6 separate regions of the Homo sapiens genome follow, and all the other regions are linked to region 1. The links are contacts of gene promoters, found by promoter capture Hi-C in blood cells and fetal thymus (Javierre and others, 2016). All regions are on one chromosome and are shown on one strand. The core of a region is centred on a gene start or on the middle of the fragment in contact, and the rest is flanking DNA. Distances in the headings are between cores, read along the strand shown.

What was found. Contacts are between HindIII fragments. The CHiCAGO score rates a contact against its expected background, and 5 or more counts as called.
Region 2: a contact is called between a fragment that was not itself captured here and the fragment with the promoter of TSSK6 in region 1, in 9 of 17 cell types (naive CD8 T cells, naive B cells, activated CD4 T cells and 6 more). The highest score is 8.9, in naive CD8 T cells.
Region 3: a contact is called between a fragment that was not itself captured here and the fragment with the promoter of TSSK6 in region 1, in 6 of 17 cell types (naive B cells, non-activated CD4 T cells, total CD4 T cells and 3 more). The highest score is 8.0, in naive B cells.
Region 4: a contact is called between a fragment that was not itself captured here and the fragment with the promoter of TSSK6 in region 1, in 2 of 17 cell types (total CD4 T cells and naive CD4 T cells). The highest score is 5.6, in total CD4 T cells.
Region 5: a fragment that was not itself captured here is called in contact with the fragment with the promoter of TSSK6 in region 1 in 1 of 17 cell types (non-activated CD4 T cells); the score reaches 5.1 in non-activated CD4 T cells.
Region 6: a fragment that was not itself captured here is called in contact with the fragment with the promoter of TSSK6 in region 1 in 1 of 17 cell types (non-activated CD4 T cells); the score reaches 5.1 in non-activated CD4 T cells.

What each region holds. Positions count from the first base shown.
Region 1 is chr19:19,513,418-19,517,537 of GRCh38, reverse strand. TSSK6 (testis specific serine kinase 6) reads left to right here and starts at 1,990. Exons shown (of 1, transcript NM_032037.4): 1 at 1,990-3,319. The coding sequence starts at 2,111. The coding sequence ends at 2,932. It overlaps NDUFA13 (NADH:ubiquinone oxidoreductase subunit A13), which reads right to left and starts at 1,313. Exons shown (of 5, transcript NM_015965.7): 1 at 1,206-1,313. The coding sequence starts at 1,299. RefSeq lists an enhancer at 1,135-1,414 and a silencer at 1,625-1,744. The HindIII fragment of the contact is 18,272 bases long and covers 1-4,120 here.
Region 2 is chr19:19,965,108-19,969,227 of GRCh38, reverse strand. It overlaps the pseudogene BNIP3P12. Among named protein-coding and RNA genes, the nearest start is that of ZNF93, 66 kb to the right of the region's middle. The HindIII fragment of the contact is 4,313 bases long and covers 51-4,120 here.
Region 3 is chr19:19,948,494-19,952,613 of GRCh38, reverse strand. It overlaps the pseudogene BNIP3P12. Among named protein-coding and RNA genes, the nearest start is that of ZNF93, 50 kb to the right of the region's middle. The HindIII fragment of the contact is 2,967 bases long and covers 237-3,203 here.
Region 4 is chr19:19,929,627-19,933,746 of GRCh38, reverse strand. ZNF93 (zinc finger protein 93) reads right to left here. Exons shown (of 4, transcript NM_031218.4): 4 at 1-565. Among named protein-coding and RNA genes, the nearest start is that of ZNF93, 31 kb to the right of the region's middle. The HindIII fragment of the contact is 4,278 bases long and covers 253-4,120 here.
Region 5 is chr19:19,909,179-19,913,298 of GRCh38, reverse strand. The region is part of intron 1 of ZNF93 (zinc finger protein 93); the gene reads right to left. Among named protein-coding and RNA genes, the nearest start is that of ZNF93, 10 kb to the right of the region's middle. The HindIII fragment of the contact is 1,625 bases long and covers 1,070-2,694 here.
Region 6 is chr19:19,769,522-19,773,641 of GRCh38, reverse strand. All of the region lies in intron 1 of LINC00663 (long intergenic non-protein coding RNA 663), which reads left to right. Among named protein-coding and RNA genes, the nearest start is that of LINC00663, 4.8 kb to the left of the region's middle. The HindIII fragment of the contact is 452 bases long and covers 1,855-2,306 here.

The DNA.
Region 1 (4,120 bases), core at 741-3,240:
TTTGATTTGTTAAGAGACATGCATTCTGCCGAGCACGGTAGCTCATGCCGATAGTCCCATCACTTTGGGAAGCCGAGGTGGGTGGATCACTTGAGCCCAGGACTTCGAGACCAGCCTGGGCAAGATGGCGAGATCCCATCTCTATAGAAAATACAGAAAGCTGGGCGCATGCTTGTAATCCCAGCTTCTCAGGAGGCTGGGGTGGGAGGATGGCTTGAGCCCAGGAGGCGGAGGTTGCCAAGAAATCACTCCAGCCCAGGCAACAGAACCATACCGTCTTAAAAAAAAAAAAAGAAATGTATGTATTCACTCTTAGATTACGTTTAAAAGTTTCTATTTGTCTGTTAACCTGGGGACTGAGTATGGGCGCCTTTTAAGTTCTCTTTTTCAATTTTCTGTGCTGAGCCCGATAACAAAATTTAACGTGTTACTTAAACATTTGAAAACTTTACGCCGGGCATGGTGGCTCACGCCTGTAATCCCAGCACTTTGGGAGGCCGAGGTGGGCGGATCATCCGAGGTTGGGAGTTCGAGACCACCCTGACCAACATGGAGAAACCCCGTCTCTACTAAAAACACAAAGTTAGCCAGGCGTTGTGGCACATGCCTGTAATCCCAGCTACTCAGGAGGCTGAGGCAAGAGAATCGCTTGAACCCAGGAGGCGGAGGTTGCGGTGAGCCGAGATGGCGCCATTGCACTCCAGCCTGGGCAACAAGAGCAAAACTCCGTCTCAAAAAAAAAAAATTGAAAATTTAAAGAATATGGATTCCTGTGACACCATGCAGGCGGGGGCTGCCAGCAGGGAACCACTGCATAGAACATCTTGTAAATTCCCTCCAGGTTCCGGGTTGCGGCCTCAGCTTTGCCTTGGGGAGCCGCGGCCTTCTTTGGGCCTCAGTTTCCCCATCTTAGAAATCCAAGGGTGGCTGAGGGCCAGAGCACAGGCTATGACTCAGTTTAACCCACTGTAAAACGTAAATAACTAGAGGGACCGATTTCCTGGGCTGTTACGAGAAGGAAGAGGAGCTGGGAAAGACCTCAACAAACTGCAGCACTTAGCGTTATTACAGAAGCTATGATGGATCCCCGGGCTCCGCCTCCGGTCACACCGCCGGGAAAACTGAGGCCCGCCTGTGTCCCCGGAACCCCGCCCCCGAGCCCCGAGTGCCCAGACTCTGAGACCCCGGCGCAGAGTGATACTGACCCGACAGTCCTCGACGCGGCAAGTTCCGTTTGTAGTCGATGGGCCCATAGCCCCCCGGCGGAGGCATGTCCTGCTTCACCTTTGACGCCGCCATACTCGCAGTATCCCACACTTCCGGTCCCGGGCGGAAGTGACTTACTGCCACCGCCATGATGAGTGTGGCGGAAGCACTTGAGATGGTCCGCGGCACGGCTAGGAAGTCCCGGACAGTAGTGTAACTATCCGACCGCGCGGGAAAGCTCTGGCGGCGGACCCTGGGTAGGAATGCGCTGCCGGGCTGCAGCTGAGGGGTCTTTACTCCTCTTTTGCCCAGACAGGGCGTGACTCGCCTTGGTTCTTGCATTATAGGCCCTCGCGTTCACCTTGCCTCTGGGGTGTTGCGCAGGCCAGTCAGAAACTCCGAGCTCTCAAAGGAGCCAGGTGCCCCAGTTAAGGCCCCTTTTCCCGTTTTCGCCCCGTCTAGGGACTCTACGCGAAGCCCAGGGCTCCACGTAGTCACGGGCTGGGTACATGATGTTGGGGGGCAGCTGCTGCTCGAAGTCGGACTCACCCCAATCCCTGGAACGGATTCTGCTCCCTGGTGGTGATGGGTATCCCTTGCTAGTGGCCTCTCATCGGAAACTGACCATTCAGGATGATTATGAGTCACAAAGCAGGGAGGCTAGGGTGGCCCCGGGGCGGGGTCCCGGACCCCCACCCTAAGGCGGAGTGACGCCCGCAGTCACTTCACAAGGCAAAAATTGTTACGGGGCAATAAAAGGCACAACAGCGGCCAATGTCTGGCAGTGGGCACATGGGGGTGCGGGGGTGTAGGTGCCAAGCGCCATGGCTTAGACCCGAGATTGGAGTCCGGCCGCCCCCCGACAGCAGCCGCCTCCTGCCCCCCGTGCGCCCTAGGCGCCACCATGTCGGGAGACAAACTTCTGAGCGAACTCGGTTATAAGCTGGGCCGCACAATTGGAGAGGGCAGCTACTCCAAGGTGAAGGTGGCCACATCCAAGAAGTACAAGGGTACCGTGGCCATCAAGGTGGTGGACCGGCGGCGAGCGCCCCCGGACTTCGTCAACAAGTTCCTGCCGCGAGAGCTGTCCATCCTGCGGGGCGTGCGACACCCGCACATCGTGCACGTCTTCGAGTTCATCGAGGTGTGCAACGGGAAACTGTACATCGTGATGGAAGCGGCCGCCACCGACCTGCTGCAAGCCGTGCAGCGCAACGGGCGCATCCCCGGAGTTCAGGCGCGCGACCTCTTTGCGCAGATCGCCGGCGCCGTGCGCTACCTGCACGATCATCACCTGGTGCACCGCGACCTCAAGTGCGAAAACGTGCTGCTGAGCCCGGACGAGCGCCGCGTCAAGCTCACCGACTTCGGCTTCGGCCGCCAGGCCCATGGCTACCCAGACCTGAGCACCACCTACTGCGGCTCAGCCGCCTACGCGTCACCCGAGGTGCTCCTGGGCATCCCCTACGACCCCAAGAAGTACGATGTGTGGAGCATGGGCGTCGTGCTCTACGTCATGGTCACCGGGTGCATGCCCTTCGACGACTCGGACATCGCCGGCCTGCCCCGGCGCCAGAAACGCGGCGTGCTCTATCCCGAAGGCCTCGAGCTGTCCGAGCGCTGCAAGGCCCTGATCGCCGAGCTGCTGCAGTTCAGCCCGTCCGCCAGGCCCTCCGCGGGCCAGGTAGCGCGCAACTGCTGGCTGCGCGCCGGGGACTCCGGCTAGAAGCCGGGTGGTTCCAGCCATTCCTGCAGCCAAGGGCACTGGGCCAGGGCGGCGCACGCGCAAGAGGCGCGCTTCGAGGGAATATGCGAAGCTGCCGCGTGCTGCTGCACATGCGCTTTTTCCCTTCCGCTTCCCTCCCTTTCTTCCCACGGGGGAGTCCGCAGTTGCCCTTGTTCGGAATCCACGTTCCCCGCGATCCCGGGAGCTGGAGGCGCATGCGCATCCGCGATTCCCTGCGACCAGGCCCCGAGAGGGCGAGACCAGAGGGGACGGAAGCATTGCGCCTGCGCGGAACTCTCAGCCTCTGCGCGGAGGGCGTCCCTTCCCAACCAGCCGTGGGTGCCAGGTTCCCGGTTGGAACCTGCAATAAACTCGCTGTTCCTCGCACCTGGCTCTAACGGTGGCCCCCATTTGCGGACTAGTGGAGAAGCGATCGCTCCATCCGGGGAAGGCAGGCGCGGGTACCCTATTTTAGAGTCACGCATGTTGAGGTTATTGCTCCAAGACTCAAAAGGGAGTCGGGAGGATTCGAGCCTGGACCTTTTGAGCTCCCCAGTATGGGCAAACTCAAAGGAGCTTTGTTGTCCCCGGGTCGTGATGTCGCTGTGATGATGGGCTGGGAAGCAAGTGGACCCCAGCGCCTCGCCGTCCACATCTTTTAAGAATGGAACAGCCAGGGGTGGGGCGAGGGTGGCCTGTCTCCACGTAAAGTAGGAGTTTATAGATAAGGAAACTGAGGCCCACATGGATGTCACTTGCCAAAAGGCAGAGCCAAGGGCCAGGCGCGGTGGCTCACGCCTGTAACCCCAACACTGCGAGTCCGAAGCGGGCAGATATCTTGAGGTCAGGAGTTCGAAAACAGCCTGGGCATCACAGCCGAGACCTCATCTCTTGTTTGTTTGTTTGTTTGTTTGTTTGTTTTTTGAGACAGAGTCTCGCTCTGTCGCCCAAGCTGGAGTGCAGTGGCACGATCTCGGCTCACTGCAACCTCCGCCTCCCGGGTTCAAGCGATTCTCCCGCCTTAGCCTCCCAAGTAGCTGGGACTACAGGCGCGTGTCCCCCCACCCGGCTAATTTTTGTATTTTTAGTAGAGACGGGGTTTCACCATCTTGGCCAGGCTGGTCTTGAACTCCTGACTTCGTGATCCACCCGCCTCGGCCTCTCAAAGTGTTGGGATTACAGGCGTGA
Region 2 (4,120 bases), core at 958-3,457, 450 kb before region 1:
TAAACAGAACAAGTATCAGCCAAAAATTTTGTATCCAGTGAAACTAAGCTTCATAAATGAAGGAAAGATACAGTCTTTTTCAGACAAACAAATGCTTAGAGAATTCACCACTACCAAGCCACTACTGTAAGAACTGCTAAAAGGAGTTCTAAATCTTGAAACAAAACCTCAAAATACAATGAAATAGAACCTCCTTACGGCATAAATCTCTCAAGGCCTATAAAACAATAACACAATAAAGAAGGTATTCAGGCAATGACTAGCACAATGAATAGAATAGTCCTTCACATCTCAATACTAACGTTGAATGTAAACGGCCTAAATATTCCAGTTAAAAGATGCAGAATAGCAAAATGGATAAGAGTTTACCAACGAAATATCTACTGTCTTCAAGAGGCTCACCCAACACATAACGACTCACTTAAACTTAAGGTAAAGGGTTAGAAAAAGATATTCCATGCAAATATACCCCAAAAGAAAGCAGTAGTAGCCATTCTTACATTAGACAAAACAGACTTTAAAGCAAAAACAGTCAAAAAGAAAAAGACAAAGAGGGACATTATGTAATGATAAAGAAACTAGTCCAATAGGAAAATATCACAATTCTAAATATGTATGCGCCTAACACTGGAGCTCCTAAATTTATAAAACAATTACTACTAGACCTAAGAAATTACATAGATGGCAATACAATTATAATGGGGGACTGCAATACTCTACTGACAACACTAGACAAGTCATCAAGACAGAAAGTCAACAATAACAAAAAAAAAATGGACTTAAGCTATACCCTAGAAGAAATGGACTTGCCAGATATTTACAGAGCATTCTACCCAACAACTTCAGAATATACATTTAATTCATCAGCACATGGAACATTCTCCAAGATAGACATATGATAGGCCACAAAACAAGTCTCAATAAATTTAAGACAATCAAAACCATATCAACTACTCTCTCAGACTACAGTGTAATAAAATTGAAAATCAACTCCAAATGAACCATCAAAACCATGCAAATACTTGAAAATTAAATAAATTTTGGAAAAAACATTAAACTTAAGATCAACCCATTTTTGAATGATCGTTGGATGAAATCAAGATAGAAATTAAAAATTCTTTGAACTGAAAGATAATAGTGACACAACCTATCAAAACATCTGGGATACAGCAAAAGCAGTGCTAAAAGGAAAGTTCATAGTATCAAATGCCTACATCAAAAAGTCTGAAAGAGCGTAAGTAGACAATCTAAGATAACACCTCAAGGAACTGGAGAAACAAAAACAAGTCAAACCCAAACCTAGCAGAAGAAAAGAAAGACCAGAACTAAATGAACTGAAACAAACGGAAAAAAAATACAAAAGATAAATGAAATGAAAAGCTAACTCTTAGAAAACATAAATAAAATTCATAGGCCATTAACAGCATTAACCAAGAAAAGAAGAGAGAAGATCCAAATAAGCTCCATTAGAAATGAAATGGAAGCTATTGCAACTGATGCCACAGAAATACAAAAGATCACATTCAGGGCTACTATGAACACATTTACATGCAAAAACTAGAAAATCTAAAGGAGATGAATAAATTCCTGGAAATGTGCAATCCTCCTAGATTAAAAAAACAAACTCTGAACAGACTAATAACAGGCAGTGAGATTGAAATAATAATTTCACAAATTGCCAAGCAAAAACAAAAGTTCAGAACCAGATGAATTCACTGCTGAACTCTATCAGACATTCAAAGAAAAATTGGTGGGGGTGGGGCCAAGATGGCTGACTAGCAGCAGCATCCCATAGAAAAGAACCATAATAGCATGTGAATCCTGCACTGACATCTGAGGTATCCAGTTTCTCTCATCAGAACTGACTAGGTGGCTGGTGTGACCCATGGAGAGGAAGGAAAAGCAGTGTGGTGTGGCAACCCACCTGACAGCCAAATGGGGCTGGGGAGCCCCCAGCCCCAGCCAAGGGGGGCAGTGAGTGAGCAGGCTACTCAGTCTGGGAAACTGCGCTTTCTCTATGGAACAGTGAATCCCACTGATTAGAAGATTCAACTTGTGAACCCACGCCACTGGAGCCTAAGGTTCCAACTGTTGGAAACAAGAGCTTGGAGTCACAAAGAAAATGAGCACTCAAACAACGAATTTCTCAGCAAGGCAAATTTACTTCTGCAGAAGAGGCTGCTCATGTCTCTGGCTGTTGTGAGAGCACACCATACAAGAGAGGGAAGGGGTTTTTATCCCTAATGCAGTCCCTACTTCTGTGTCCTGTCCCCATTGGCTGGAGTCAGACTGCACAATCTAAACTAACTGGATTGGCTAAATAGAGAAAGGCGGGAAGTTTGTTTACAGAGCAGGTAACTAGGAGTGAGGAGGACTTCTTCCAAATAAGAAGAGATGTGGGTTACAGATTGGGACTGGCTGGAAGAGTTGTTTACTGGCAGGAAGAGCAGGTAGTTAGGAGCAGGAAGGTACAAGGAAGTTGAATTTGAGAACAAAGAACAAGGAAGTTACCCTTTGAAGAGGAACTTACTGTGCCTGACACAACCCTGGAGCTGAGCAGATTCTCAACAGCCTCTCAGCTAGAATCTGCTTAAGCCTGCTAAGTTCCCAGTGGAGGGACGACCAGCACCACAGCTGTGGCTTGCTGCTGTCTAAGCTGTTTGAGCTCCTTGGGGGAGGGACAGCAGCCAGCACGGGGACTCACAACTGCCTAACAGGCTAAGATCCCTGGGTGGGGAAAGGCAGCAGCCATATCTATAGCTCCTGACCACACTTTTCCCCTGCTAGAGCCAGGGAGGCTGGACAGCTTGGTCTCAAGAGGTGTCCCCCACAGCCCAACACACCGGCTGTGGCTGACTGCAGCCAGAATGTCTCTTCAGGCCTGACCCTCACCCATCCCTCCTCACTGGGCAGGGCCTCCCAGCAGGAACTCCAACAGCTCCAGCCAGGGGCTCAGGGACAGAACTGTGATCTCCCTGGGCCTGAGCCCCTAGGGGGAGAAGAGGCTGCATCCTCTGTGAATCAGCAGACTTAGCCTTTCCTCCTGCTTGCTCTGAGGAATTCGGGCAGCCCAGACGAGTGGGATTTTCCCTAGCAAAAAGCCCCTCCTCCACCAAGGAACAGTCAAAGTGCTTCATTTAATGGGTTTTGCTCCCCATGCCACCCAACTGGGTGTGACCCTTCAGCAGGGGTTGTCAGACACTCTATACAGGAGCGATCCTACTGGTATCAGGTTGGTGCCTCTTGAGTTCAGAGATCCCAGAGAAAGGAGCAGGCACCCTTCTTTGTTGTTCTCGAAACTTCTTGAGTGACATCTCCAGGTACAGGAGTGAAACAGATGAATAGGGCCTGAAGTGACCCCCCAGCAAACTGCAGCAGCCCTACAGAAGAGGGACCTGACTATTGAAAGAAAAACAAACAAACAGGAAGAAACAACAACAGCATCAACAACAAAAGCATACCCACAAAAACCCCATCCAAGGCTGGGCGTGGTGGCTCACACCTGTAATCCCAACACTTTGGGAGACCGAGGCAGGCAGATTGCTTGAGGTCAGCAATTCGAGACCAGCCTGGCCAATATAGTGAAACCCTGCCTATACTAAAAAATGCAAAACTTAGACTGCCGTGGTGGTGCATGCCTGTAGTCCCAGCTACTTGGGAGCCTGAGACATGAGAATCAATTGAACCTGGGAGGCGGAGGTTGCAGTGAGCCAAGATTGTGCCACTGCACTCCATACTGGGTGACAGAGTGAGACTCTATTTCAAAACAAAACAAAACAGAACAAAAAAACTCATCCAAGTGTCAGCAGTCTCAAAGATGGAAACTAGACAAACTCATGAAGATGAGAAAGAATCAACAAAAACCCCTGAAAGGCCCAAGTGCCTCTTCTCCTCCAAATGATCACAATGTCTCTTCAGCAAGGGTGCAGAACTGGACAGAGGATGAGATGGACGAAGTGACAGAAGTAGGCTTCAGAAGATGTGTGACAGCACACTCCGCTGAGCTAAAGAAACATGTTCTAACCCAATGCAAAGAAGTTAAGAACCTTGATAAAAGGTTAGAGGAACTGCTAAATAGAGTAACCAGTTTAAAGAGGAACATAAATGACCTGATGGAGTT
Region 3 (4,120 bases), core at 471-2,970, 440 kb before region 1:
TGTCTTGCATCTGCCACCACAGGATTTCCACCCACTCACAAACACACACACACTAGACATTGATGTGTCCACACTCCTCCCAGGACTAGGCACCACCCTCAGGAACTTCACCACTGCATTTTTGATCCTAGTGTTTCTTGCCAAGAACCCACAAGTGTCTACAAGTCTTCTGGCATATCCCCACCCTCAGACACTGAATCTGCAGCAGCAACTTGTTTTCTCCACCAACCTAAGCTTCTGGGCCACCTGTTCATGATCTCATCTGCCTGCATTCACACAGAAATAAATCAGTACAGCCCCACCTGGGCCACTATCTGTAGTGAAAATCAGTCCTTTCAGCTACATTGCACTCTGCCATCCAGGGATATTTTTTCTTTTAGCTTTTATTTTTGGTTCGGGATATACATGTGTCTTTGTTTTACAGCTAAAATTATGTCATGGGGGTTTGGTGTGCAGATTATTTTGTCACTGAGGTACTACCCGTAGCACCAAACAGGTCTGTTTTCTCATCCTCTTAGTCCTCCCACCCTCCACCCTCATCTAGGCCTCAGTGTCTGTTGTTCTTCTCTTTGTGTTCATGTGTTCTTATTATTTAGCTATTACTTATAAATAATAACATGCATTTGGTTTTCTGTTTCTGTATTAGTTTTCTCTTTTTTTGTTGTTTTTTGTTTTGTTTTTTGAGATGGAGTTTTACTCTTTTTGCCCAGACTGGAGTGCAATGGTGCAATCTTGGCTCACTGCAACCTTCGTCTCCCAGGTTCAAGCGATTCTCCTGCCTCAGCCTCCCTAGTAGCTGGGATTAGAGGTGCATGCCACCATGCCCTGCTAATTTTGTATTTTTAGTAGTGATGGGCTTTTTCCATGTTGGTCAGGCTGGTCTCAAACTCCCGACTGCAGGTGATTTGCCCACCTCCCTCCCAAAGCGCTGGGATTACAGGCACAAGCCACCATGCCCAGGCTCTCCGTTAGTTTTCTAAGAATAGTGGTCTCCAGGTTCACTGATGTTTTTGCAAAGGACATGATCACTTTTTTTAATGGCCACAGAGTATTCCACGATGTTTATGTACCATATTTTGTTTTTACTAAATCTTTTATTTTATTTTATTTTTGGAGACAGGGTCACACTTATGGCCCAGGCTAGAGTGTCATAGCATGATATTGGCTTACTTTAGCCTCAACCTCCCAGGCTCAAGCAATTGTCTCCTACCTCATCCTCCTAAGTACTTGGTGTGGGGGGACTACACATGTGCTTTACCACACCTGGCCAATTTCTATTTTTGTATTTTGCATGGAGACAGGATTTTGCCCTGTTGCCCAGGCTGGTCTCAAACTTCTAAGCTCAGGCAATCCACCTGCCTCAGCCTCCCAGAGTGCTGGGATTACAGGCATGAGCCACCGCGTCTGACCATACCGTGTTTCCTTTATCCATTGATAGGCATTTAGGGCCTGTCCATGTCTTTGCTATTGTGAATAGGGAATCAACTGTATTGTTCTTTTTGAGTGGGTATGTATTGTAGCTGGAACAGGGAGTTCCTGGTTTGAAAGGACAATGTTAATGTTGGGAGTAAGGCAGACTAGGGCGCAAGTGCCTGTCCAGTTAGTAAGGAGACAGAAGTATGTTGTGGACCCGCAGAGAAAGAAGATGCCTGAGGTATTTATGCAAACAGACAGGTGGATTGAGAGTAGGTGTTGCAGTTTGTAGGTTCCCCACTTGGAGGGACTTGGCTCAGCTTCAGCAACCCAGAGTGAGAAAGAGACAGAAACCCCTTTGAGCACTCCTGTCCAAGGAAGGGGTTTCCATGTTTGAGAGGTGGGAGGGAGGAAATGCAGAAGGGCTGAGTAAAGAGACCGTTGACTTCAGGGGAGACTGAATAATCCACTCAGAGTGAGATATGGGAGGAAGGGTGAGAGATGGTTCGGGTTGAGTTACAGGCAGAGGGAAGGAGGGTGCCTACGTGTACGTGTCCATTGGAAGAGGTGATGCATAAGGGGGCTTGGCCAAGTCTTGTGGTATGGAGAGTTATGAGACCTTGGATGGTGGGGTATGGGAGTTTTGAGTCATCATAGTTGGCAATATAGATTGAAGAGGAGCTTGGTAGCTCTGTCAGTGAGGGCAGTGGGATAGTTTCCAGTGAGAGTGAGGGCTCTGTCTACAAAGGCAGGTCCCTTTTGGATGTTGTAAGAGAAGTGAATGGGAAAATGGTCTCAGGGCTAAGAAATTGGGATAGCTGAGTAGGCAGTAGAGGAAAGGCAAAAATAGGTCCAGAAACTGGAAGCAAATGTTGAATTGGAGCACAGTAACAAAAAGTGAGTGAGGTTGAGAGATCATTCGAGACTTGTAGAAGTGAGAAGGGACCCTGAGGAGGTAGAGGCCATGGGGCTGGCTGTCAAAAGAATTAGGAATCTGAGGAAGAATCAGAATCTGTTGTTGGAGAGAGGAGCTGGTAGGATCCATACAGGGAGGTGGCTTCTTCTAGGGGGTCTATGAGGTGGCTGATAGCGTCCCATGGATGGTCAAATTCTCCTTGCAGATGGGCAAGGTATAGGTGGGTTAAGACTTTTCCTCATGTGGAAATGGGGAGAGAAGAGAGGGATTCTAATATTTGGTATGCTGTAGGGTGAGGCTGTTCCTTGTCACGAGGACCTTGGCATCTGTAGCAGGGGCAGAAGTGATATGTAAAAGAGTTACCGCTCGTGGGCCTTCTTCAGGGATGGGCGTCAGGCAGAGTTTGGTTGGACAAAGGAGGGTGCTGGAGGATTGGTGGAGGACAGTCTGTGGTTCAGTAGGCACTGCAGGAGCCCTTTTTACTCTGGAAAGATGGTACCAAGAGGCATGTCCTGAGTTTGGCTGCAGTGGGGGTTGTAAGGATAATTTGAAAAGGGCCTTCCCACCTTGGTTTTAGCCTTGTTGGGTTAAGAGTTTTTAGGAAGACATACTTTCCTGGTAGGAGAGTCCAGTCAGTGGGGCCTTTGTGGGGTTTTGGGAGGGCTTGATCATTCACAGAGGAGATGACGGATAAGGGAGAAGGTTGGGAGATATTCTCCTAGCTGGGAGTCGAGAGGAGGCCTGTTTTGTAAGAGGAAAGGGCGTCCATACATTAACTCAAATGGGCTAAGGAAGAAGGGTGATTTCGGACTTGCTCTGATGCAGGCCAGTGCTATGGGCAAAAGGGAGGTCCATGGTTTTTGGACTTTAAGCTTGAGTTTGGTTAACTGAGCCTGAAGGATCCCATTTGCCCTTCTGACTTTTCTGGATGACTGGGGCCATTATGGGATACGGAAGCACCTCTGGACGCCAAGGGACTGAAAAACCTGTTGGATGATCTGGGAGATGAAGCTAGGGCCATTGTCTGATTGTATGGAGTGAGGGAGACCAAATATAGGGATGATTTCTGTTGTAAGGATTTGAGAGACTACTGCGGCCTTTTCTGAAGAGGTACGTAATGCCTCTACCCACCCAGAGAAGGTGTCTATAAGAGTAAGAAGAAATTTTGTCTTCTTGACGGGAGGCATGTGGGTGAAGTCTACCTGTCAGTCCTCCTCTGGGAGTGTTCCTCTGAGCTGATGTGTAGGAATAGGAGGAGAGCGGAGGGCCCCTTGGGAGGAAGTAACAGAGCATATATGACAGTTTGAGGTTATGTGTCTTAGTGAGATGAATAGGTGGGGGGAGGAGAAATAAGGGCAAAGGAGTAGGTACAGGAAGTGTGCACCGATATGGAAGGATTGGTGAAGAGATGTTAGAATTTATTTGGTTTGTTCTTGGGGGAGGATGAGCTTTTGACTTTTGATTATCCAGTCCCCTTGAAAGGAGGCTTCTTGCTGTAGTAGCAAAGCCTTCTTGGTGGGGGAGTACCTGGGTTGGATTGCTGGGGTAACAAGGAGGACAGGGGCAGGGGCTGATGAGAGGGAGGCTTCTTTTGCAGCCTCGTTGGCTTTTCTATTCCCTTTTTGATATTTTGTCTCATACTGTTTCACGTCCCTGACAGTATATAACCCCTGCCTAAGTTGGGAGGCATGCAGCCTGGAGGAGCTGGTAAATAAGGGGGCCGTTTTTAACGGGGGTTCCTTTGGCAGTAAGGAATCTCTTTTCTGCCAGATGGTGGTGCGAGAATGAAGA
Region 4 (4,120 bases), core at 1,142-3,641, 420 kb before region 1:
TTGCCACATTCTTCACACTTGTAGGGTTTCTTTCCAGTATGAATGATCTCATGTTTACTAAGGGTTGAGGATGCAATAAAGGCTTTGTCACATTTATCACACTTGTATGGTTTCTCTCCAGTATGAATTCTCTTATGTGTATTAAGGGCAGAGGAGTACTTAAAGGCTTTGCCACATTCTTCACAAATGTAGGGTTTCTCTCCAGTATGAATTTTCTTATGTGTTATAAGGGTTGAGAACTGGTTAAAAGCTTTGCCACATTCTATGCATTTGAAAGGTTTTTTTTCAGTATGTCTTATATTATGTCTATTTGAATTTGAAAATTTATGAAAGACTTTCCCATATTTATCACATTGAAATACTTTGCTCTGGGTAGTTGTACTACACTGGTTAAGTCCATTATAACCTCCTGTGTGCACCTTACACTCATCTACACTTTCACACCTTTTTATTAACTGTAAATTTCCATGTCCACGTTTTTCATATCTTCTCAGTATCACTTTTTGGAAAGAATCTTTTATGTTCTGCTCTGGCCAAAGATCTTGGGCAAAATGAGAACATATAACTGAAAGAAACAATAAAAACACATTACTTCAATTGCTAGACTCAGATAAATATACTTTACAAATCTAACCTATAAAATTATACAAACTACATAACTAAGATGACATAGTAAAATACCACAAGCTGTAATGTCTTCCTGAACATATAAATGTAACAAAAACATACAAACCAAAATGGCACAAATGTAACTGGTAAGGCAGGTAAATTTAACTCCATCTCAAAAACAAACAATTGAAAAACAATATTTTGAAGATGTCTTTACTGCTCAATTTAATCTACAGATTTAATGCAATGTCTTTCAAATGACTCACAGCATTTTCAAAGAAATAAAAACAACAAATTTAAAAGTATATGGAATCCAAACAGACAATAAAGTACCCAGCAATCTTCAAAAACAGGAACAATGTTACAGGCAATACCATTTCTGATTTCAAAACACATCAAAAAGCTACAGAATTAAAATAATTTGGTATGAGTATAAAGGTGAAAAAGTAGACTAATAAAACAGAATGCAGCAAATATATTACATTAACTTTCACATAATTATTGTAGCATTGTTACTGCAAGCCACTAGGTAAAAGTAATCGAAATTTGTGTCACCAAATCATTCAGTAGACACAAAAGTACAGGAATTATCACTCAGTTTTCAAAAAGCAGAAAATACTGTAACAACTATTAAGATAAATATTGATGACATTATGCAAAATAAAGTGACCCAGCCGCAAAAAGACAGAGATTGGATGAGATATATAAAGCAGTTATACTCTTAGAAACAGAAAACAGAGTGGTGTTTGAAAAGAACCACAAAATACAAAGGATTGGTAGTTATTTACTGTGTACTGAGATTTAGCTTTGCAAGATAAAAAACACTCTAGTGATATGTTGCATAACAATGTCAATATAATAAGACCAAACTGAATATTTGGAAATATATATATATTTTGAGATGGAGTCTCACTCTGTCTCCCAGGCTGGAGTGCCTCCTGGGTTCTAGTGATTCCCCTGCCTCAACCTCCTGAGTAGCTCGTACTACAGGCATGGGCCACCATGCCTGGCTAATTTTTTGTATTTTAGTAGAGATGGGATTTCACCATGTTGGCCAGATGGTCTCGATCTCCTGACCTCGGGATCCACCCACCTTGGCCTCCCAAAGTGCTGGGATAACAGGCGTGCACCTGTAGATACACCATATAAAATAATTTTTATATCAATAACAAACTGGAAAATATAGAGGCATAGTTTTTATTCAATTGAAGTTGTTATGAGATTAAAATATATTGTTTTAACTTTAAGATGTATGTAATCTCCAGTTTTTGAGATGATTACTAAGATATTATTTATACAAAGTATGCAAAAGAAAATAAAATATAATCAAAGCATGCCAGTACAAAATTAAATGAAAATTAAGTAAGTAAAACAGGAAATGAGAAAAATATAACTACTAGAAACACATAAAACAATAACAATATTAGTGGTAATAACAACTTCATTTCTTTAACCAATCATTTTAAATATAGATTAAACTACTAAATAAAATGAAATGTAATCATAGGAATTTGGAAGTTCAAGATGGGCTGATCACTTGAACCCAAAAGTTCAAGATCAGCCTGGGCAACATGGCAAACCTCTGTCTCTACAAAAAATACAAATAAGCTGGTTGACAGAGTGAGACACTATCTCAAAAATAAATGAGGCTGGGTGCAGTGGCTCATGCTAGTAATCCCAACACTTTGGGAGGCTGAGGCAGGCAGATCACCTGAATTCAGGAGTTCAAGACAAGCCTGGCCATCATAGTGAAATCCCGTCTCTACTAAACTTACAAAAAATTAGCTGGGCATGGTGGCATGCACCTGTAATCCCAGCTACTCAGGGGGCTGAGGCAGGAGAATCACTTGAAACTGGGAGGTGAAGGTTGCAGTGAGCTGAGATCATGCCATTGCACTCCAGCCTGGGCAACAAGAGTGAAACTCCATCTCAAAAACAAACCAAATAAAATAAATAAATAAATAAATACAAATATAAATATATATATAAATAAAATTATATAAAGAAAAAGATATAGAATGCCTAAGTGGTTTTTTTAAAAAAGCATACAGTGTGCTGCCTACAAGGGACTTACTTTAGCATTAAGTCAAATAGGCAGAAAGTAACAGAATGAAAAAAATGTATATTCCATGAAAATAGCAACCACAATTGAGTAAGGTGGTCATAATTATATTAGACATAATATGCTTTAAATCAAGTACTTCTACAAGACAAAAATTGATATTATATTGTGGGCAGCAAGCCACCTAGGTGCCGAGGCAGGAGACCAAGGACATGAGCTGTTCCAGCATAATAAAATATAAGATAAGAATAGTTATACCAGATATAGATCTTAGATATGATTATATATGAATATCATTAATCATTAGTTGGTAGCAATTACTTTTTATTCCAATATTATAATAATCCTCGATCTATAATCACAACCTAGGAAAAGCCAGGCCATACAGAGATAGGAGCTGAGGGGACATAGTGAGAAGTTACCAGAAGACAAGAGTGAGAGCCTTCTGTTATGCCCAGACAAGGCCACCAGAGGGCTCCTTGGTCTAGCAGTAATGCCAGCGTCTGGGAAGACGCCCGTTGCCTAGCAGACCGCGGTCTAGCAGTAGCCTCAGTGTCAAGGAAAAACACCTGCTACTTAGCGGACCAGGAAAGGGAGTCTCCCTTTCCCTGGGGGAGTTTAGAGAAGACTCTACTCCTCCACCTCTTGTGGAGGGCCTGACATCAGTCAGGCCTGCCTGCAGTTATCCGGAGGCCTAACCGTCTCCCTGTGATGCTGTGCTTCAGTGGTCACGCTCCTAGTCTGCTTTCAGGTTCCATACTGTACACCTGGCTCTGCCTTTTAGATAAGAGTAGCAAAATTAGTGAAAGTACTAAAAGTCTCTGATATGCAGAAATAATGGCATAAGCTGTCTCTCTCTCTCCCTCTCTCTCTCTGCCTTGGCTGCCAGGCAGGGAAGGGCCCCCTGTCCAGTGGACACGTGACCCACGTGACCTTACCTATCATTGGAGATGACTCACACTCTTTACCCTGCCCCTTTTGCTTTGTATTCAATAAATAACACTGCAGCCAGACATTCGGGGCCACTATCGGTCTCCACGTCTTGGTGGTAGTGGTCCCCCGGGCCCAGCTGTCTTTTATCTCTTTGTCTTGTGTCTTTATTTCTACAATCTCTTTTTTTTTTTTTTTTTTTTTTTTTGAGACGGAGTCTCGCTCTGTTGCCCAGGCTGGAGTGCAGTGGCGCGATCTCGGCTCACTGCAAGCTCCGCCTCCCGGGTTCACGCCATTCTCCTGCCTCAGCCTCCCAAGTAGCTGGGACTACAGGCGCCCGCCACTACGCCCGGCTAATTTTTTGTATTTTTAGTAGAGACGGGGTTTCACCGTTTTAGCCGGGATGGTCTCGATCTCCTGACCTCGTGATCCGCCCGCCTCGGCCTCCCAAAGTGCTGGGATTACAGGCGTGAGCCACCACGCCCGGCCCTACAATCTCTTATCTCTGCACACAGGGAG
Region 5 (4,120 bases), core at 633-3,132, 400 kb before region 1:
CCTAATGAGAAGCCTGGGCTGATAACCACTAAGCTAAGCATTGCCTCTCAAGCTTTAACGAGCTTATAAATCACTTGATAATTGTGGCCGCACATTCTGTAATGTGATTCTGTATGTTTGAAGAGGGTTTATGAATGAGTGTTTTAAACAAGTCCCCTGTCAATGCTGATGTTGCTCCCCACTGGCTCATTATGAGCATTAGTTAGAGAAAGCAGGAACAGCACAGGGTCCCTTACACTTAACACTCTTGCCATAACCAAATACTTCTAGTAAAAATAAGGACAGCCCATTCCATTTAAAAGTTTTATATTTTTTGCTGGCTCTTTAAAATTTACAGAGGAAACAGAAGACAGCAATATCTGAATAAGTCTGTATTTTAAAAAGAACATGTACACAGGTACTAATGCAATGTTTATTAAGCAGGCACTATGTGCTAGAGTATGATACAGAGCACGGTGCTGGGCATAACACATTATATGATTTAATTCTCTTAACACCCGGGGAGCTGGTACTAAGTGTTTCTTAATTTTCAGGATTTAGATAAAGGGCCCATTTTTATTTTTTCTTCTGTTTCTCTGTCATCAAATTTTTTAAAAAATTGTATAGAATAAAAGCTAAATATAGACAGATGAAAGAGATACAGAAGAGTTTAATGTAGTCTAGAGAAAATTTCATTCTGTTTATATTTACTTTTTTGACTTGTGCAGCAACTACTGGATCTGCAGGAATAGAAAACAAGTTGCTAAATACAATGTCTCTGCAAGCACTGGTTTTAATAAAAAATTTAAAAACAAACACCTTACAAAACATACTTTTTTTCCCGATTTATCTGCTTTTGAATTTCAGGAAATTGTGAGCACCAGCTCTAGAAAGGCAGCAGGATTCAGCAGCCAAAACTCTGATCTCCTTTAATGAGTTCTGTGAGGCAATACTCCAGGGTAGGTTCAGACCTAACTAAGGTCTCCAAAAAGGATGAATCTGAACACGTCTGGGGCAGGGTGAGAACCCTATGTAGAATTCTGTTCTCTATGCAACTAGGAAACTTCCAGTTTTGTTTTGTTTCTAAGCTTACCTAAAAGAAACTTAAATCCCAGAGTTTCTGTAGTTTTTATCTTTTCTAGTCACTGCCCTGACAACTTTATACTATATACTAGTATGCAACTTAAACAAATCCCTTAAGGTTTTCTAGGGTAATTTTATTAGAAAATAAATATCTACAGTTAGCAAGGTAAAAGAAATAGAAAATATACGGCCAAGCGCGGTGGGTCATGCTTGTAATCTCAAGACTTTGGGAGACCAAGGCGGGTGCAGAACGAGGTCAAGCAGTTAAAGACCAGCCTGATCCAGATGATGAAACCCCGCCTCTAGTAAAAATACAAAAATTAGCTAGGTGCAGTGGCAGGCAACTGTAATCCCAGCTACTCGGGAGGCTGAGAAGGGAAAGTCACCTGAACCCGGGCGGCAGAGTTTACAGTGAGCCGAGATCGTGCCACTGCAAGCCAGACCAGGTGACAGAGTGAAACACCATCTCAAAAAAAAAAAAGAATTTATAACAATTATTTTGTTCATAAATCTCCCTTCAGGTGTAGACATCAGAAGTCACAACAATATAAAGAAAGTGGTCTAAAGCCCAAGATTTTTAACACATCTATTTATTATACCAACCATATGATGCACACTTCAATTACTTATCCAGTAGCTAGTCTAGACTAAAAGTTTCTGGATTGTAGGAACTATGACTGCTTCATGTATTTTTTTAATGCCCATATGAAGTGGAAGGAGCTAGTTTATCTATCTGGGTCTCCAGATCTTCTCCTTATTATCCAAGTACCAGGAAACTGGAGAAGCTGTCATCGGGGTACCAACCAAAGATATCTCTTGTATGAGGGAATGAACAAACACAGGATGACTCATTTCTCTTACACTGAGACAGAAGCAGAATTAACCACTCTTGTCAGCCTGACAAAATTCTGCTCTGGACATCCTCAAATGCCTCAAAGACACCTGGGTGATTGTGAGAGATTCCCAGTGACCCAGGCCTCATGGCCCAATGATAAGCCAGGCTGGAGAGACTCAGGCTAACTCTGAATAGAAAATGGAACTGCCCTGGTGGAGCTCCAGAACCTGGATCACCCATTCTGATTTGCTAGCTCTTGGGTAAGAGAAAGATCAAAAATACTCTACTCTAGTATTACATTTTACAGCTAAATATAATTGTGGTCATGGCTCTGGATACTTTGTGGCCCCGATCTCTCACTCCTAAGATGCTTATTTACACTTACAGATTCTGCCATCTGAGTCTATTTCTCCTGGAGCCCCTCACATAACTGTAGCAGGTCAATGAACAAGATGTGAAAATCTCAAAGAGCCACACTCCCAAATGGGGGCTGTAAGATGTCTATGTTTACATTCACAATGCAGAAAATGACTTTTGTTCATTTTCTGTACATTCTCAATCCAAGTTCTGGTCCTTTCTTGTAAATCCCAGGCAGAGGCCAGACCTTATCTGCAGATTCCAGGTAGGATCCACCTGGCTCTGCATCCTTTGGTGTTACAGCAAGTGGAATACAATCAAAGGAGAGATCCCCTCATAGAGACTACTCTAGCACATTCTAAATGGTAAGTCTACATGAAAAAAAAAAAAAAAAGCTGAAAGAACATGAATATAAGTAGATAGTTTACTTGGGTCAAGCTTAAGGATTATAACCTGGGAGCAAAGATTCAAGTTGCCTGGAATCTGCATTTTGATTACCAGCAGTTACAAGACAATTTGTAAAGACAACAAGACAGGGACAGAGAGTGGGCTGATACAAAGTTGATTGTCAGAAATTTTTATTTATTTACAGAAATAACATCGATTATTGATTACATATATATTATTATGGTTTAGGGTATGGGATATAGTGTCTAATGTGGCATTATTAGTTTAATTTATAATTACTTGTGGCAATAGTGAACAGTTTCAAGAGATGAATACATAGTTCAAAGGGGGGAGAAAGACATAACAGTACTTTCATTTTAATGTCTGAGTTTGATAACCAAAGGGACTTGCATTTCTTAGGTAAGTTTTTTTTTCCCCCAAATCTCAAGACCTGGATTCAAAATTTGGAGCTTCAAGTTTAGGGCCTGAACGACTGGAGTAGCCACAGGTGTTTACCTGTACATTTGTGAGCATTTAGCAAGAGGAGGAAGGGGAAAGTGGAGATTCTCATGTCTCTATGTCTACTCAGCACACACATGTTACTCTGATTGGGTTTCTGGGCTCCATAGTTTCTGAATCAGTTTCAAATCTGAAGATACAAGAGTCACTGAAAAAGGTTAAATGATTAATTAATTGCTGCCCTGTGAAGTTTGTAGAAATTGGGTCTAGCCTCTCTAGAAGTGACAGTAGAGGAACTATCAATACCAAATAGGCAGAGACAAAATTCCACGTGCATATTTAATGGACAGCATGCATTTTGCTGCGCAAGTATGGGCTGACTCAAAGTCTGAGAGGGAAAGTCCCCTCTACAGTAAATTCTGGTTGGCACCTTATGTGTTTATATCATGTCTGGTAATTCTAGACACTCTGTGGAAACAATAATTAAAAGAAAAATTTTCTCTATTTTCAGAGAAACTCCACAATAATAGAACAGAAAGAAAATGGTCTTATTACACAATTAAACTTGAATGTGACATACATCATCATCAATCTGCTTAAGAGACTGCAAAGTCAGAAAGATGGTCATCATAATTAGTCCACAAGTAGAAGAATTTTCAGCACCATGTCATATATAGTTCATCCTAAATTCACCTGGATACTGAAGAGGCCATCTGTGTATACTAATTGCTTATATTCAATGACAAATAAACTTTTCACATCTTCATAACAGGAGTTGGTTTAGCAGCTTGAAGCCAGGTGTCTGCTGAAGCTAGGCTTTCACTCTGCTACAAAAATGGCTGAATAGTGTTCTTTTTGGCTATTTACATTTTAGAGCAGTGGCTCTGTACTCCCTGGCACTGGGCTACAGCACTCCTGTTTACTTTCTCCTAGTTGCTAGTGTCCTCTCTTTACCGCTACCATCTGCCACTGAGGCACAGCCCAGAGCACAGCTTACATTTTATGTGAACCCCATTTGCC
Region 6 (4,120 bases), core at 831-3,330, 260 kb before region 1:
GACCAGCCTGGCCAACATGGCAAAACCCTGGCTCTACTAAAAATAAAACATTAGCTGGGCATGGTGGCGCACACCTGTAATCCCACACCTGTATTCAGGTCACTAAGGCAAGAGAATCACTTGAACCCAGGAGGCGGAGGTTGCAGTGAGCCGAGATTGTGCCACTGCACTCCAGCCTGGGAGATAGAGCGAGACTCTGTCTCAATAAATAAATAAATGAATAAATAAATAAAATAAAGGAGAAGGGACAGAGAAACACTAGAACGGGCCAATTAGAAGAAAAAGCCCTGCCGGGTGCGGTGGCTCACGGCTGTAATCCCAGCACTTTGGGAGGCTGAGGCGGGTGGATCACGAGGTCAGGAGTTTAAGACCAGCCTGGCCAAGATGGTGAAACCCCGTCTCTACTAAAAATACAAAAAAATTAGCCGGGCGCGGTGGCAGGCGCCTGTAATCCCAATTACTCAGGAGGCTGAGGCAGGAGAATCGCTTGAACTTGGGGGGCGGAGGTCGCAGTGAGCCGAGATCGTGCCACTGCACTCCAGCCTCGGTGACAGAGTGAGACTCCATCTCAAAAAAAAAAGAAAAGAAAAGAAAAAAAGAAAAGGGCCATGTGAGGATACAGAGGAAGGTGGCGCCATACGCAGAGGGCTCAGGAGAAACCAGCTGTCCTGGGACCTTGATCTTAGACTTCCAGCCTCCAGAACTGTGAGATGATTTATTTTAACTCACCCAGACTCTGGTATTTTCTTATGGCAGCCCTAGACGACTAATACACTTTATTATTCTTTTTATGTCTGCAGGGTATGTAATGATATCCTTTGTTTCTTTTTTTTTTTTTTTTTTTTTGAGATGGAGTCTCGCTTTGTAGCCAGACTGGAGTGCAGTGGCCCGACCTTGGCTCACTGTAATCTCCACCTCCTGGGTTCAAGCAATTCTCCTGCGTCAGCCTCCCGAGTAGCTGGGACTACAGGCACCCACCACCACGCCCAGCTAATTTTTATTTTTTGTATTTTTAGTAGAGACAGGGTTTCACCATATTGGCCAGGCTGGTCTCGAACTCCTGACCTTGTGATCCACCTGACTCAGCCTCCCAAAGTACTAGGATTACAGGCGTGAGCCACCGCGCCTGGCCGATATCCCTTGTTTCATTCCTGACAGGGTAATTTGTGTCTTGTCCTTTCCCCCACTTAGTCTTGCTTGAGGTTTGTCTATTTAATTGATCTTTTCAAAAAAAATCAGCTGTCTGTTTTATTGGTTTTTCTCTATTACTTTCTGAGTCTCAACTTTATTTCTCTTCCTATCTTTATTATTTCTTTCTTAATACTTCTTTTGTTTGGGTTTAGTTTATTAAGTTTGACCTTTTCCCAGGTTATCGATGTGGAAAATTAGATTATCTGGAGACTTAGTTTTTTTCTTTTTTTTCTTCTTTTTTTTTGAGACAGTCTTGCTCTGTCGCCCAGGCTGGGGTGCAGTGGCGCCATCTCGGCTTACTGCAAGCTCCGCCTCCTGGGTTCATGCCATTCTCCTGCCTCAGCCTGGGACTACAGGCACCTGCTGCCACGCCCGGCTAATTTTTTTTTTTTTTTTTTTTTTTTTTTTGTATTTTTAGTAGAGACCGGGTTTCACCGTGTTAGCCAGGATAGTCTGGATCTCCTGGCCTCGGCCTCCCAAAGTGCTGGGATTACAGGCTTGAACCACCGCGCCCGACCAGCCTTTTCTAATATATGAGTTTAGTGCCATCAGTTTCTTCAGTACACTGCTTTAGTTGTGTCTTACAAATTTTGATCCATTGTCTTTTCATCATCTTTGTGGTCAATGTATTTTTTGTTTTCCCAGGGACTTCCCCTTCAAGCTTGCAAGAGTTGGAGATGTTTGCATTGTCTTCACATTATTGATTTCTAGTCTGACTCCATTATGATCCGAGAACACACTCCGTGTAATCTGATTTTTAAAATTTGTTGAAGTTTGTTTCATGGCCTAGGAGATGGTCTATCTTACTTTATGTTCCATGAGCCCTTGAAGAGAATGCATATGCTGCTGCTGTTGATTAAATTACTCTACAAATGTCAACCAGATCCTGTTGATGAATGATGGTGTTGAACTGTTGTCTTTTTTTTAGATTTGCTGCTGAAATTTTCTCTGTTCTATTGTTTAGAGAAAAATGTCAATATCTCCAACGATAATTGTGTATTTGTCTTATTGTCTGTTTCTCCTCTGTTTGTTCCAGTTTTTGTTTCACATTTTTCATGTCTGTTGATTTATGCCTACACATTTAGGACTGCTGGGTCTTCTGGGTGGATTAAGCTTTTTATCATTATGTAATTTCTCTCCATGTCTCAATTTTTTTCTCTGAAATCTACTTTATCCGATATTATTGTAACTACTCATGCTTTCCTTGATTACTTGTATCTTTTTCCAGCTTCTTATACTTTATTTATTTATTTTAAATTTATTTTTGATATGGAGTCTCACTCTGTTGCCCAGGCTGGAGTACAGTGGCGTGATCTCGGCTCACTGCAACTTCTGCCTCCCCAGTTCAAGCGATTCTCCTGCCTCAGCCTCCCAAGTAGCTGGGATTATAGGCACCAGCCACCACACCTGGCTAATTTTTGTATTTTTAGTAGAGCCAGGGTTTCACTATGTTGGCCAGGCTGGTCTTGAACTCCTGACCTCAAGTGATTCGCCCACCCCAGCCTCCCAAAGTGCTGGGATTACAGGCGTGAGTGAGCCACCACGCCTTGCCCAGCTTCTTATACTTTAAATTTACCTTTTTTTTTCTGATTTTATTCTGCTTTTTTTTTTTTTTTTTTTTTTTTTTTTTAGTATTTATTGATCATTCTTGAGTGTTTCTCGGAGAGGGGGATTTGGCAGGGTCATAGGACAATAGTGGAGGGAAGGTCAGCAGATAAACAAGTGAACAAAGGTCTCTGGTTTTCCTAGGCAGAGGGCCCTGCCGCCTTCCACAGTGTTTGTGTCCCTGGGTAGTTGAGATTAGGGAGTGGTGATGATTCTTAGAGCATGCTGCCTTCAAGCATCTGTTTAACAAAGCACAACTTGCACCGCCCTTAATCCATTTAACCCTTAGTGGACACAGCACCTGTTTCAGAGAGCACGGGGTTGGGGGTAAGGTTATAGATTAACAGCATCCCAAGGCAGAAGAATTTTTCCTAGTACAGAACAAAATGGAGTCTCCTATGTCTACTTCTTTCTACACAAACACAATAACAATCTGATCTCTCTTTCTTTTCCCCACATTTCCCCCTTTTCTATTCGACAAAACCGCCATTGTCATCATGGCCCGTTCTCAATGAGCTGTTGGGTACACCTCCCGGACGGGGCGGCTGGCCGGACGGGAGCTGCCCCCCACTTCCCAGATGGGGCGGCTGCCGGGCGGAGGGGCTCCTCACTTCTCAGACGGGGCGGCCGGGCAGGGACGCTCCTCACCTCCCAGATGGGGTGGCGGCGGGGCAGAGACACTCCTCAGTTCCCAGACGGGGTCGCGGCCGGGCAGAGGCACTCTTCACATCTCAGATGGGGCGGCAGGGCAGAGGTGCTCCCCACATCCCAGATGATGGGCGGCCAGACAGAGACGCTCCTCACTTCCTAGACGGGATGATGGCCGGGAAGAGGCACTCCTCACTTCCCAGACTGGGCGGCCGGGCAGAGGGGCTCCTCACATCCCAGACGATGGGCGGCCAGGCAGAGACGCTCCTCACTTCCTAGACGGGGTGGCGGCCGGGCAGAGGCTGCAATCTCGGCACTTTGGGAGGCCAAGGCAGGCAGTTGGGAGGTGGAGGTTGTAGCGATCCGAGATCACGCCACTGCACTCCAGCCTGGGCAACATTGAGCACTGAGTGAGCGAGACCCCGTCTGCAATCCCGGCACCTCGGGAGGCCGAGGGTGGCAGACCACTCGCAGTCAGGAGCTGGAGACCAGCCCGGCCAACACGGCGAAACCCCGTCTCCACCAAAAAATACGAAAACCATCAGGTGTGGCGGCGCGCGCCTGCAATCGCAGGCACTCGGCAGGCTGAGGCAGGAGAATCAGGCAGGGAGGCTGCAGTGAGCCGAGATGGCGGCAGTACCGTCCAGCCTCGGCTCCGCATCAGAGGGAGACTGTG